2 separate regions of the Homo sapiens genome follow, and region 1 is linked to region 2. Evidence: promoter capture Hi-C in 16 types of primary human blood cells and fetal thymus (Javierre and others, 2016). All regions are on one chromosome and are shown on one strand. Each heading gives the region's core, a stretch centred on a gene start or on the middle of the fragment in contact. The rest is flanking DNA. Distances are from core to core; before and after follow the strand shown. Region 1 overlaps HBP1 (HMG-box transcription factor 1). Region 2 holds the start of KMT2E-AS1 (KMT2E antisense RNA 1).

What was found. Contacts are between HindIII fragments. The CHiCAGO score rates a contact against its expected background, and 5 or more counts as called.
Region 1: a fragment that was not itself captured here is called in contact with the fragment with the promoter of KMT2E-AS1 in region 2 in 1 of 17 cell types (neutrophils); the score reaches 6.4 in neutrophils.

The regions. Positions count from the first base shown.
Region 1 is chr7:107,171,938-107,178,548 of GRCh38, forward strand. The region is part of intron 1 of HBP1 (HMG-box transcription factor 1); the gene reads left to right. Among named protein-coding and RNA genes, the nearest start is that of HBP1, 6.2 kb to the left of the region's middle. The HindIII fragment of the contact is 5,805 bases long and covers 263-6,067 here.
Region 2 is chr7:105,011,795-105,019,004 of GRCh38, forward strand. It overlaps KMT2E-AS1 (KMT2E antisense RNA 1), which reads right to left and starts at 2,347. Exons shown (of 1, transcript NR_024586.1): 1 at 1-2,347. KMT2E (lysine methyltransferase 2E (inactive)) reads left to right here and starts at 2,411. Exons shown (of 27, transcript NM_182931.3): 1 at 2,411-2,741. RefSeq lists enhancers at 961-1,330, 1,420-1,959, 1,751-1,800, 2,121-2,240, 2,501-2,730 and 1 more and silencers at 1,951-2,000, 2,351-2,440. The HindIII fragment of the contact is 4,615 bases long and covers 1-3,438 here.

The DNA of each region.
Region 1 (6,611 bases), core at 1,915-4,414, 2.2 Mb after region 2:
GAAAAATAAATCACAATGAATTAAAAAAAAATTAAAGCTGCCAGATACCTGCATATCACAAAATTCAGGGAAAAATGGCATACTCTAATATTCTTATTAATTGCCTGATATCAGTAACATTCACATTTTTCATATACTTATCAGCATTTACTTTGGTGCTTCATAATTTCTACTATCATTTTCTATAGAGAAACTAGAAACATAATTTTCTCCATAATTGTGGTTGAGTTTTTAAAAGTTATTGATCATAGCTTTAAAAAAAAGCTTTTCCCACAAGTTTTTATAGATAATGTAAAAATGTTTAGGAGTTTATCTTATACTTTTGAGGAGCCATTTAACCACTTTAAAGCAAAATATTGTTTGTGCTTACTCGACTGATAAATTATAGAATGAAGTTTTGATTTCACTTTCTAGTTTCATCTTAGTTTTGTAAACTCAGTGAACCACATTATGGAGAAAATTATGTTTCTAGTTTCTCCATAGAAAATGATAATAGAAATTATGAAGCACCAAAGTTTAGGAAAACAAGTTTCATAAGAATTTTTAGATGATGTCGTTTTAATATGTGACTTATCTTATATGACTCATCTTAAATACTTATTTGAATTGACAGTACTCCTAAAACAGTTTGTGGATGACTGCTTCTGCTATTAATGGGTTTTCTATTGTCTTGATCAATATAGTATTTCATGTTGAATGAGCATGAAATTACTAAGAACTTGTATAGATGTGGATTGGGCAGTGTCTGTGGGATGTAATATCTTTTATACCTACAACAATTCTGATAGGTAGATAGGTACTAGTCCCATTTTTTTTTACTTATTTTTAAAAATTTTTTAGAGATGGGATCTTGCTATGTTGCCCTGGTTGGTCTTGAACTCCTGGCTCAAGCGATCTTCCTGTCTTGGTCTCCCAAAGTGCTGGCATTGCAGGCCTGAGTGACTGGGCCTGGCCACTAGTCTTATTTACAAATAAAAAAAACAGGTCCAAATAAGAAAACAGGCCTAGAGATTTAATTGTTCAGGGCCATGAAAGTGGTAAGTGACCAAAACGAATCCACTAAGGGTTTTTGTTGTTGTTTTGTCTTTTCTTGTAGCCCGGTGGCAAACTAGAGTTGTAGACAAATACCTGTGAAATCTTTTGAAGTTTTGTTGAAAATACTCTAAAAGAACAGCATTACAGCCTCAGAGATGCTTTTGGTATAGAAAGTTGCATTTAATATACTTTGTTATGGAGGCTTGTTTTAGCATGTAATTATGTAATCCATTTAAAATACCTCAGTTTCAGAGATAGAAATTAATTGCAAATTACCTTTTCTTCACCTACTCTTTGAAAACAATTTGAGCGTGTAGTCTGGACTGGTTATGGAAATCCTTCAGGATTAGGGGAGAGCATATAGAAGATCCTGCTGTGGATTCCATGATGATGATGGAAAAGTAAGGATTCAGGGAATAATAGGCACTTGAAAGCAGGAAGTAACCCATGCTGGCTTATACCTTTTGTCTTTTTTCCCTCTCAGCTCTCGCCTTCAAAAAGAAAATGATCCCATTTAGTCATCATAGTCCTGTTTTCCTCATCCATAATAATACTTTATTCACAGAGTTGTTCTGAGTTTAAAATAAAATTAGATGAAGTACATGGAAGTGCTGTGTAGGTAAGCATTTTGTAAAACTGTTTCCTTCTTCATTCATTGAGACTTAGGTTTTTCTAGTTCTCTCTTTCTCTCCTGTCTTAAGATTTTGTGGATATTTGCTTCTGGAAGTTTGCATACCAAAAGCAATGGGGCATTCTAAGAAAGTAAAATTTGTAACACTGAACATGACATTTCAGAGTACAACTTCTGGAAAATAGATACTGAGAATCACTGATCTCGTGAAGAGATGACATGTGCAGAGTTAACTAAAATACAAGGCAAGCTGTGTTGAATCTGATACCAAAGCAGTATACAAAAGCATGAATGAACAATAGGGTTAGCTCTACCAGGAGATATTTGAAAGAGGAGCTTGTTTATCAAAATGAGTATGTAATTGGTATAATATATGTAGGGGAGTAAGAAATGTAAGGGCTTCCCTGGTATTCCTTTATTGTATTGGAGACCTTGCTTTCTTTCTTCAGAATAGTTGAGAATAGACAGAAGAGACAGAAAATTTCCATTTGTATGTAGTTTTGAATTTTGTTTTCATATATTGAATTCTCAGAATAGCCCTGTGAGGTAAGTAGAGGGACCGACCGTGAGTCTGAGATTGAGTGAGTGACCTGTCCCCGGTTACACAGCTAGTAAGAGTGAAACTGAAGTCTGTTGTCTTGAAGTGTAGCTTCTCTTACTGTATGGTAGCTTTACAGTAGCAGAACTTCAGTTTTCTCAGGACCAAACTTCTGATAGCCTTGAGCAATGAGAGGTGTGAACACATAGAACTTATATTCAGTAAATATTTATTTGGTTCTTTTGGTTATTTATAGGTAGCTCTGTTTTGAAATTAAAATAATGTCTTTTTCCAACTTCATTTAAGGAGTTTTGGGATGGTGGTTGATAACTAAGACAAAGTGCTGAAGAAATGATAGAAGTTGCAAAGAGACGTTAGTGTACTATACTTGGTGAATGTTGGAAACTGCAGGACCTGCTGTAGGGAAGAAAAAAGTTCTAGCTGGAAAGAATGAGGAAACCAAAGAGCTCTGCAGAGGGAGGGGGAAGACAAGACAGACTGCAGCTGTGCTTCTGTGGACCCCAAGAACAGCACTGTTCATACACAGAGGATAGCTCTGAAGAGAGATACCTGTGTAGTGCAGCTTCTAAATTTCATAATAAAGGTAAAAATGGGAAATGTTTTCAGTTCAGATAAGGTTGACTGTGCAGCTCACATCTGTATGTGAAGCATAGTACGGATATTCATAAGGATTTTTAGTTATCAAAATAGGTTAAATTATATTCTGTATACTTAAGATGCCAGAAATACTTCTATGGAAAGAGTTAAAATCTCCTATCTAAACTGTTAATATTAGGTGTTTAAAGAACTCACATAGTATGACTAGTTTCTCTCTTAAGAGTTAATAAATAAGGAATCTGCACTGAGAACCATTGCAAAGGAAGCTGGAGACGGGTGGCTTTCATAGAGACTGGGAATGTGAGTGCTCTCTTTAAAAAAAAAAATACCCTCCTTAAAATATTATAGGTGTTCCTGCATACTCATACAGTATTTCAGTATGATTTTGTCCATAGACTCAAAGAGACTGTTTTAAAGTATAGTTCTGATCATGTCAGACCTCTTTTAAAAAAAAAAATCATCAGTGGTTCTTCATTGTCTGATAATTGCTAATCATAACACTAGCCACTGTACATTGAAGGTTTGCTTTGTGTTAGGCTCTATTCTGAGCATTTTACATGATCTCACTGAGTTTTTGTAGCAGCCTGTGAGGTAGGTACTTTTATTGCCATTTTATAAACAAGGCATGAAGATTTTAAGTAAATTATTTAGGGTACATAGCTAGTAAGTGGCAAATCTGGTATTTAAACTCAGGCAGCCTGATTTCAGAGCCCCTATTCTTGTCTCTAAATAAATAAATAGTTTTCCTAAACTACAATTGAAGACTCTGATCCTAGACTACCTTTCCATATAGTAGTAGTAGTAGTAGTATAGCCTCAGTGTTCATGATCACATGACACACAAGGCCATCCTACTTTGTGGTAAAACTAGATTCTATATTCTGATCTCACTAGGACTTTGCCAGCTATATGAGTTTACTCATGTGAGTTTCTCTCATTGGGAGACCTCCCTCTCTTCTTTTTTTTTTTTTTTTTTGAGACGGAGTCTTGCTCTGTCGCCCAGGCTGGAATGCAGTGGCGCAATCCCAGCTCACTGCAAGCTCTGCCTCCCAGGTTCACGCCATTCTCCTGCCTCAGCCTCCCGAGTAGCTGGGACTACAGGCGCCCGCCACCATGCCTGGCTAATTTTTTGTATTTTTAGTAGAGACAGGGTTTCACCATGTTAGCCAGGATGGTCTCTATCCCCAGACCTCGTGATCTGCCCGCCTCAGCCTTCCAAAGTGCTGGGATTACAGGCGTGAGCCACCGCACCCGGCTTTTTTTCTTTTTTCATTTTTTTTTTTCGGAAATGGAGTCTCGCTCTGTTGCCCAAGCTGTAGTGCAGTGGTGCGATCTCGGCTCACTGCAACCTCTGTCTCCCGGGTTCAAGCGATTCTCCTGCCTCAGGTTGCTGAGTAGGTTGGATTACAGGCGCGTGCCACCATACCTGGCTAATTCTTGTATTTTTAGTAGAGACTGAGTTTCACCATGTTGGTCAGGCTGGTCTGGAACTCCTGACCTCGTGATCCGCCCTCCTCGGCTTCCCAAAGTGCTGGGATTACAGGCGTGAACCACTGATCTAGCCCCTTCTTTTCTTTTAACCCATTCATAGCCAAGTCCTGCTCTGTAGAACTATGGTCATTTGCTTATATCTTTCCACTAAAGTCAGACTCATGATGAATTGTTCATTAGTGAGATCCAGCATTGCAACTAATACAATGCCCTGTACATAGTATTTATTAAATAAATGATTTTTTTAATAAGTAGGAATTTAGCAACCATTTTTAGCCCAGTGTATCTCAGTATTCTGCACCTGGAAACAAAAACTAGTGCACAAAGCCATACCCCACACCAAACAGATCAGATCCTCTGGGGATGGGGCCTGGACAACATTTTTTTAAGCATATGTATGATTTCGTGTGCCACAGAGTAGAGAATCACTGATGAAATTAAATTTGCTCCATTTTTTTTTTTTTTTTTTTCAGGGAGAGAGTGGAGGCTTAAAATCGTGATTTCATACTTGAGAAATAGATTTGTGTTACACATTTTCTCTAGTCGCTAGTTCTGTGGGGGAAATTGTTATATCCTAGCATATTTGCTGTAACTATATGCTAAGACTGATTGTGATCAGTACATTGTACTAAACTGGAGAAGCGTTAATTTCTTCCAAATTTCATCTTTTAGGGGCTTGAAGTAATGGCATGATACATGATTTTTATGGAGATGTGCTGGATGACTTGTCATAATATCTCCTAGGGAGGAGACTGTTGAAACTGAATAGCTATCTGGTTTCCACCTGTTAATTATGTATTTTCAGTAGCTGTTCTATTTAGGACATTACAGACCCAAAGTATGTTTAATATTGCCCTATGTCTGGGGATAAAAAAATTTCAAAAGACGTCATTTTACACTTTTTTCACTATTTCATTTCATCTTCACAACTACTATCAGAGGAGAGTAGGGCAGGTATCATTAGCTCTATTTTACAGATGAAGAGAAACTCAGTCACTTAGGTCATATATTTGGTAAGTGATCAAGTTGGAATCAAAACCCGTTTCCTTACATCTAACCCAGTGCCCTTTTTGCTACACCATAATAGTAGCAAATTGTATAGTCAGTATTGAGCAAGGCTCTAAAGCAGTGCCCAGGCTAAGGGTTATTTTTGAGGGATATAGGCAGATAGCATCCAAAATAGAATATTAGACATACAGTAAGGCAATATGCATGCAGTTGGGCTATGTGTCAAGAACGCTGTATCTAGCAATCTAAAATAATCAGATGTAAGCAAATACTTTTAAAAAATAAGAATATAAATTCAGTGTTTAGAAGAGTGAAGAAACTGGGAATAGCATATTCAGTAGTAGAGGGGATAAGTGAATTTCGGTACATCCTTCTGATGTATATTTAACCATTTAGAGCTTTGAAAAAATAACATAGGAAAATGCTTATGAACTTATATTAGGCCAAAAGGTATCAAACTATAATATGAAATATGAAGAAAAACATGATTGAGTATATGTGTACATGAAGAAGAAATTGGATTGTAATACATCAAAATGTAAAAATATCTAAGTCTGGTTGGTGGGGTTAGAAGTAATCATATTCCTTTTTTTCCAAAAAAATTTTTTTTCCCATTTTTTTTCACAGTGATTGTATTTTCTAGTCAGGAATACATTTCAAAACCAAAAAGATCATGAAAAAGTCTTCGTAGAAAGAAATTTATCAGTGTCATCGGTGTTTATTGGTAATTAACATCATGACTTAGAAAGCTTATAAATATTAAGTGATTAACATTTTTTCAGTGCAGTTTTGATCAGCCTGCACTGGGTGCTTGACTTTCAGTGACTTTTAACAGCAATATATTTTATTGCTTTATTTTGAGGAAAAATATGTTGTTGCAAAAGTCAGGATTTTTTTGTGTATTTCATATTCACTCATTAGAACTTTTTCTTTAAGAGGGGGGGTCTTGCTACATTGCCCAGGCTGGATTCCAACGCATAGGCTGAAGTTGTCGTCCCCCTTCAGTCTACCCTAAGTAGCTGGAACTATAGGCATGAGCTACTGCATCAGGCTAGAACTTTTTTAAAAAATGGAATTTAGACTAGAGCCTGAGAAATCAGAAAAATCTTACCATTGTTGCTTATGTTAAATAAAGAACTAATTCGATCGTTGTCCAAAGGGTGAAATAAAAGAGACAACCACATTTTCCTTTCATAATAATATTTAGTTGTTGGATTTTGCTGAGAAATTATTTAAATTTATTAACCCATATTCTCTTCCTTGTGATAATTTTGTAGGCTTGCAGGTAGAT
Region 2 (7,210 bases), core at 1,097-3,596:
CAACTTAATACAGTTTAAAACACGGCTTTTATTCCGTATTACTAATGCCCAGTGCAAAAAAAAAAAAAAAAAAAAAAAGCAGGCCCGGCGCGGTGGCTCATGCCTATAATCCCAGCACTTTGGGAAGCTGAGACGGGCGGATCTCGAGAGTTCGAGACCAGCCTGGTCAATGGGGTGAAACCCCGTCTCTACTAAAAATAGAAAAAATTAGCAGGGTGTGGTTGTGGGCGCCTGTAATCCCAGCTACCTGGGAGGCTGAGGCAGGAGACTCGCCTGAACCCGGGGAGGCGGAGGTTGCAGTGGGCCGAGATCTCGCCTCTGCACTCCAGCCTGGGCACAAAAGAGCGAATCCCACCGACAAAACTATATTCTTAAGGGATGTACAGACAGAAAACTGAAATAAAGAACAGGAATCACAGGAGGAAGGAAGAGTCTGAAAAGGGCCCTTAAATTCAGATGGCTGCTTATGCCTTTTCAAAGCAATTAAAGTGTTCCTGGGTGTTATTTACACCTTTAAATTTGTTTCCAAACTTTGGAAATACTTTTCTATTTCAATCTGAGAAACTGTTTCCTCAGAAAGTAATCGATCCTCCTTGACGTTGTACCCCCAGAAGCTGGTCTACCCCTCGCTAGGCCTCCCAGAGGCCCTCAAGGACTCCTAGTTGATTCCGAGTCCCACGTCAGGGAACTACCACCTTACATAAGTATACTTTGCGGGGAGAAAGGCAGATAAGAAAATAGGGCGCCAAACCTTCTCCACCAACAGCCGTCACACCCCACGAGGACTGTCCTGCGGGGGCTTTCCCCTGGGAGCCGCAGCTGTTCTGCCGTATGGGGGAGGGGAACGCTTTCCAACAGTCATCTCTTCCTCTTCAGGCCGCCAACGCCGACCGCACCACAGTCTCCTCCGCCCAAGCCCTGTCCCCTCCCCCGCCCCGGCCTGGGTCGGAGCCAAACCCCACAGGAATGCAGCCCGGTCACATGCGCTGCGGCGGTGGACGTGCCTCTCCCCCCGCGCCCCAAAGAGACCCAGCGCCATCTTGCCCTGACGCAGTTACAAAAGTCACGGGAGAAATCCTGTCTCCTCCTCCGCGCCAGCGCCCCAAAGTTTTGCAGAGGCCGAGCCGGGGCCCTCACCTCGCGCAGGGACAGTAGAAAATGGTCAGGGAAGAGCCTTGCGATTCCCTTCGCCACTGCTTGGGTTCCATATCGGCCGCGGCAGCAACGATCACCATCGTCACTTCTCCCTCTCTACCTTTGCAACAGCCTCCCCCTACGGCTTTGGCCCCACCCGCTGCTGCAGGATGAGGTCATCGCCAGCCAACCACGACGCGCCCGACAGGACACATCAGGCGCTGATTGGCTGCCGAGACCGCCTCTGCCTCTCCCCACTCCGCTTCCCCCAGCGCTCTGGGTCGCTGCGGGGCAAGGGGAAGACGGAAACCATTTCGGGGAAAGACCCCCAAAACAAGAGCCGGAATCGCCGTGTCATTTTAGTGGGGAAACCCTTCTTTTATTCTTTGGTCTCCCCCTTTTTTCTTCGAGATCACTGTCTGTCCCTCCCTCGTTTAATCACCGCCATATAAAGGAATTCCCACTCCCCTCCCCGCACATTGTCCCACCGGTGGGGAAATCCTTCCCCGAGGCCAAGAGAAGTATAGGAGGCAGCGACGGCAACTGCACCGACGGCAACGGCAGCTTTTTACCCCGAAGCACGGTGGCAGGGAGGCGGCGTTGACGGTGGCTGCATTTTTCCGGCTGCTTCTCCCCCCGACCTCTTCCGTTTCTTGCTCCTCCATCGAGACAGCACTAGACTCGCCAGCTCCGCTTTTATCCGGTGCCCGGAGCCTGCGCACTGGAGCCTCCTCAGCCCCTAGTGGGCGTCGAGTGACACCCCAACCGGGTTCACCCAGCGCTGGAGGCCAGACTGGGCTGGGGGAGGAGGGGGAGAGGAACGGGGAGACGGGACTGGGGTTGTTTGGGAGGGGGAGAAGGTGTATCGCTTTCGGAGGGTGACGGGAGGGAGTTCGTTCCCAAGCCCTGCTGTCCTTGTTCGTGCACCCAATACTGGCATGCCCAAGCTCACCTATATCCAGACTTGAGGGCCACTGGGGGAAAGGGGGAAAGAACCAGTCCCACCGAATACCGACACTTCCTCAAACCTTCGGTGGATTGTTGAATGCATCTGTTGTCAGAAAGACAGAGATTCCGTCCCCCTCACCGCCTCCAGTTTGCTATCTTCGAGCCTCCGCGGAGAGGCAACGGCGGGCGGCAGCCCACAAGCAAAATGGCGCCGGGCAGCTTCATCCCCTCCCCCTCTGCCCCTGCGGAGCGGGACGGGCGTACCCCGTGCACTTGCCGCCGCCGCCGCCGCCGCCGCGGCCGCCGCCGCCGCCGCCGCCATTTTCCCAGAGCGAGAGGCAGTGACACTGAGCGGGCGCAGGGGGCCGAGTCGGAGACCGTGCCGGAGTTCGGGAGCGGCAACAGAGTGGGCATAGACACTCCGAGCAGCCTCGCCGTCGTCTCTGCGTTCCTGTTGACTGCCTGGCTGCCCCCTCCCCTACTCCTCGGTTCCTGGTGAAGAGGCTGCGCGCTGCTGTTTGGGGAGGGGGTGTGTGGAGCCGGGTCCTGTGTCCGCAGTGGCTGCTGTCGGGGGGTCGCCTGTTCGCGGAGGTGCGGAGAGACTCCTTGGGGGTCGAGCACATAACGGGGTTCGGGTGTCTCGTGTGTGAACATCACAGGTTAGTGCCTGTCGTCTCCATGGGAGTTCCTGGGGCTTGCGGGGTTGGGGTACTTGTGTTTCAAGGGGGAGGGAGGTCTCTCATCTTTATCCTTAAGCTGGGGGAGCCGACGTTGACTCTCAGGTGTCTTTGCCGGCGCAAGACGTTGCTTGCTTAAATCGAATTTATTCTTTCTTCTCCCTGACCCTAGAAATGGAGCATTATGGCGGGTTTTAGGGTTGGGAAAGGGGTAACTGGCAGTTAAACCCCCTTGAGAGTGGGGGAGTTAGGGAGGGGGCGCACTCCTCATTGGCAGCGGGTTAAGGCCGCTTGAGTGAAGACGGAGGCTTGTGACTGTTAGTAGGGTTTGTGTCGAAGTGGTCCCAGGAGCTGCCAGCGCTCCCTTTTCTCAACCGCGTCTTGTTCAGGTGCTGAAAAGCCATATAGGCCCCATTTTCTTCTTCCATTTCTTGACGGGCAGTCTCTGGTATAATGTGCACATGAATACGAAGGGGGTAAGAAGAACGCCCTGGGCATCTCTCTTTGTGGGAGAGCGAGACAGCTAGCTCCTCATCCTCTCCTGGAGAGGGTAAACCCGCCCCTGAAGTGGTCACCCCAGTACCCAGCCTTCTCAGTCTCCTCCCCCACTCCTTTTGCATTACCGCCGTCCTTTACTGTGCCGGAGCCTTAGGATCTACAATATGGCTCATTTCAGAAAAGCTTATTTTGACCAAGGGATTGGCACAAATTCTATGGCAGCAGACACAGATGAGAAACAAACGGTTCACTGTGCTAAACGGGGTGGGGGTGAGAAAAAAACAATCCAGAGTGCTCTCTTCTACTGGCCTTAGTTCCGTATAGATCCGTCCTTGCTGGGCTCTGTCTTAAGAACGATACAATTTAAAGTCAAAGAGGAATCGCTAGAGTTAGCTCTAGAGTAAACCTCGTTTTGCCTATTTTGTTCCCTTTTTAGAGATGTGAATAAGGTAAGGTGTTTGGAGTTCTGGAGACCTTGGAGAGAATTAAGTGAGGTGCATTCAACTCGAGGCTGGAGACATGAATACCTATTTGGAAAATAGTCTGTTTTTTTCCTTCAATTTCTGAGATGGGGAGTAAAAACTGAAATTTCCCTCTTTTGTCCTTTACAGATTCTAAAAATGGCGGCCCCAGGCTGATGTTGTGGTAATCTAATCAGCTCGGGTCCTCCACACCCCATGCAGTGCGTTTGTCTGCAGCATATTACAGGCTTATTATGTTTACATGAAAAGACTGGGCTGTTTTTCCTTCCCCGAGCCAGTTACAAAAATGTGTTGATTTTTTACTGCAAATTACAGTGCTGTGTTTTAGCTGATTAATTTGATTCGTTTTTCCTGAAAGGCAAATAAAATGTCTCCACTTTTGAAAAAAAAAAACAGCCTTGCAAATTTCAGTGGTGATGATGGGTGCGCTTCAACATTAAAAAAAAATTATTTGGGTACCAATAATAGTTTTTGTTTGGTTTAATCCAACCATCTTTTATTCAATATGCCAAAGTAGATTAAAATGTTTAGTAACTGTATAAGTATCATCTATTTTATATGATTAAATGTTTCAATCTAGAGTAAGACATTTCCCAACCACCTCTTGACCCATTTTGTGGATTTTGGTTTTTGTATTGTGTTTTAGCTTAAATTTTAGGGAGCTGTACAAACAAGCTTAAACCTGTTACTTCATTGGGTGTAGAGATGCCATTATATTTTGCCATCCATTTTTCCCATGTATTTAAGCTTTCCTTAAGAATTTTCAAAGTTTATTGTGTATTTGGTAAAGTGAAGCTTCATGCTGCCTTTAACAATCGTCTTACAGCATACTATCATCATTATGTAAGTTAAAAGTAAGGCTCCGATTCTGGATTTTTTTCCTCTTCAAATATGCCCATTTACCTATTATAGGATTGTGGAATTTAGTCTGTTTTAATAGACCTTAAATAAAAACATTACCATAATAGGGTCTTGAATCCATTTTATGCTATTTTCAGAAACTTACAGACTGAGACTGAAAATTAAATGGTGTCAGGTGTCATTTAACTGAATTTTTTAAAGTGTGAAAGATTAGAATTCACTTTCGTAGTGGGAGTTCTTTTTGGGTTGAACTAAGCAGTGAGATGTGAGTGGGCCATTAATGACATTTAATGACCATTCTGATTGTGGAGCAACGGAAAGATGAGTGCTTTTCAATCCAGTAGTACTTTAAAAGGTTGAAGAGTATACACTGTTTCATGATTCTTTTATTCCATTGTAAATATTTTAGAGCAGCATTTACTTCATATGGTGACTGTATCAACTAGGTTGATAAGGTTCTAGCCTACGAAATAATTAGAGAAATAACTGGCTCAAGGATTTTCTACATACCAGTGAGCTTCATCATGGAAGACTGAGCACACAACCTTACTTAGAATATTTGAAATATTTTATTATAAAGTGAAATGTTGGTGGGTAGTGGGCGAAATTTGTGTAGGGTTTTGGGGTCAGTACTCATTTGTATTTTGATCTGAGCAAGTATTTAAGTCCAGATCATTCACTGCTGTGTAAAGATTGTGCATTTATTTTAAAGGCTGGGTGATTAAGGTCTGTGGTTCAGAAGCTTGGTACTTTAAACTTACTATTCAATATACAAAATCAGTGTATTCTTAAAAATTTGATTTATGTGGCCATAGGAGGGAACACTGCCTGTGCCCGATGGTTTTCTTCATAGAGACCTTGGTCAGGTCTAGACAGACAAAGCAATTGAACTTATTTGGCTTCAAATGAAAAATACCAAGTTAGAAATTATAGGAAAAGCTGTCTTCAGTTTACTAGCTTTCTTCATATTGGCTTGCTTTATTGCTTTAGGTTTTGTTTCTTTTTGGTGGTGGTGGTGGGTGGTTTTTTTTTGTTTTTTGTTTTTTTTTTTGATGTTTTAGTTCCTGTAAAATGATACTGGCTTTTTTTTTTTTTAAGTATTGTACCTTATTTTGAATGGTTACTTTATAAATCACGAGGCTATAATTGTTTGTTTTTTGTTAATTTACTATGTGTGTTTTAAGTTAGGATTGTCTAGGCAAATTTATTAGAAGGTTAGGCATAATTTTTGTTCCCAGAGAGTTTTGAAAGAATTTGGTTCCTTGGGGGAAACTAGTCAAATGGTCTTTGTTCTAGGATAGCTGAGTTTGAAGGATTAGTTGTTTATCTGTTTAAGTGGATTTGTAGAGAACTATAATGTAATTGGAGAGTTAATTTTATTTTTAGAGCCTACATTTTGATCATACATCCTTTCGTTGTCAGTGTAAATGAAAGGATCTCTCTGATTCCAGTTTAAGTGTAGAGCCTTGACAGGTCTCCATTTCCCGTCAACTCTGTAAGACTGATAACTGCCCTACAATTTTGGCTCGTCTGACTTCCTCACAGCTTCCAGAGAGAAATCATTGCCATATATGCCCCCAGTAAGCTCTAGGACTTCTTGAGTCTATTGAGGCAGTAGGGAGAAAAGCTAATTAATAGGAGAAAAATTTCCCCTCAGTACATATCTTAGTGGTCTTAGGGAAATTATAATTTCTTAAATTGGCTTCTTAATTTCCAAGAATAATGTACTCGTTTTCATTCATCAATCTTCTAAAGAAACCTGTGGTTTAATTTTTAAAGGTGTGTTTTATGTAAACCCTAACAGCTCTGCATTTCTGGAAGCTACTACTACTGGGACTTAAATGTGTACAACCATAGTGTGTTTAAAATGTGTAAAACTAACAGAACTTTGAAGAGCTATCAAAACTGGTTAGGAAATACTAGTATGCAGTTTTCTCAACAGATGCTATTTTATGTTTACTATTTTAAAAATATTTTAATAATGTGTAAAAGCTTTTATCTCCAAAGGATTTGTTTTTAGCAGATGGTAGGTGCTTAATTATTTCTTGGATGTGAATCTTTTATTGAAGCAAACACATTTACATCTCAAATATGTAGGGTGATCAGGGACTGTTCCCTGTTATGTGTTAGAATAAATGTTAAATACTTGTATTCTGTGAGACTTGTTTCCCCCAATTTCATGATAGATTATCTATGAGACTTTTTAATATTGAAAATATAATTATTTTATGGTAAAATTAATTTTTATGTTGACTGGCAAATTAACGAGTGGAATACTATTTGAAATATTACTCTGTGAATGTTACTGGCTTTTAGGCTGGGTTTAAAATTGAAGTGGCTCGTATTTACTACCTGTTCTGTAATGTGCAGATGTTGGGAGGAGCCTTATTTTTTTCTTGACATTGAAAGAATAATTTTTTGTATTACCTACAAATTTACTTAACATGGAGGAACAGTATTTGTTGTTGAAATTGTTTTCTACACTAAACTGGAAGTGGATGGTATTTAACTAAAAATCTTGCAATTGCTATTAAACAATGAGTATTTTGCATTATATAAAATAAACAGTATTTTACTTTGTATAATATAAAATGAGTATTTTACTTTATA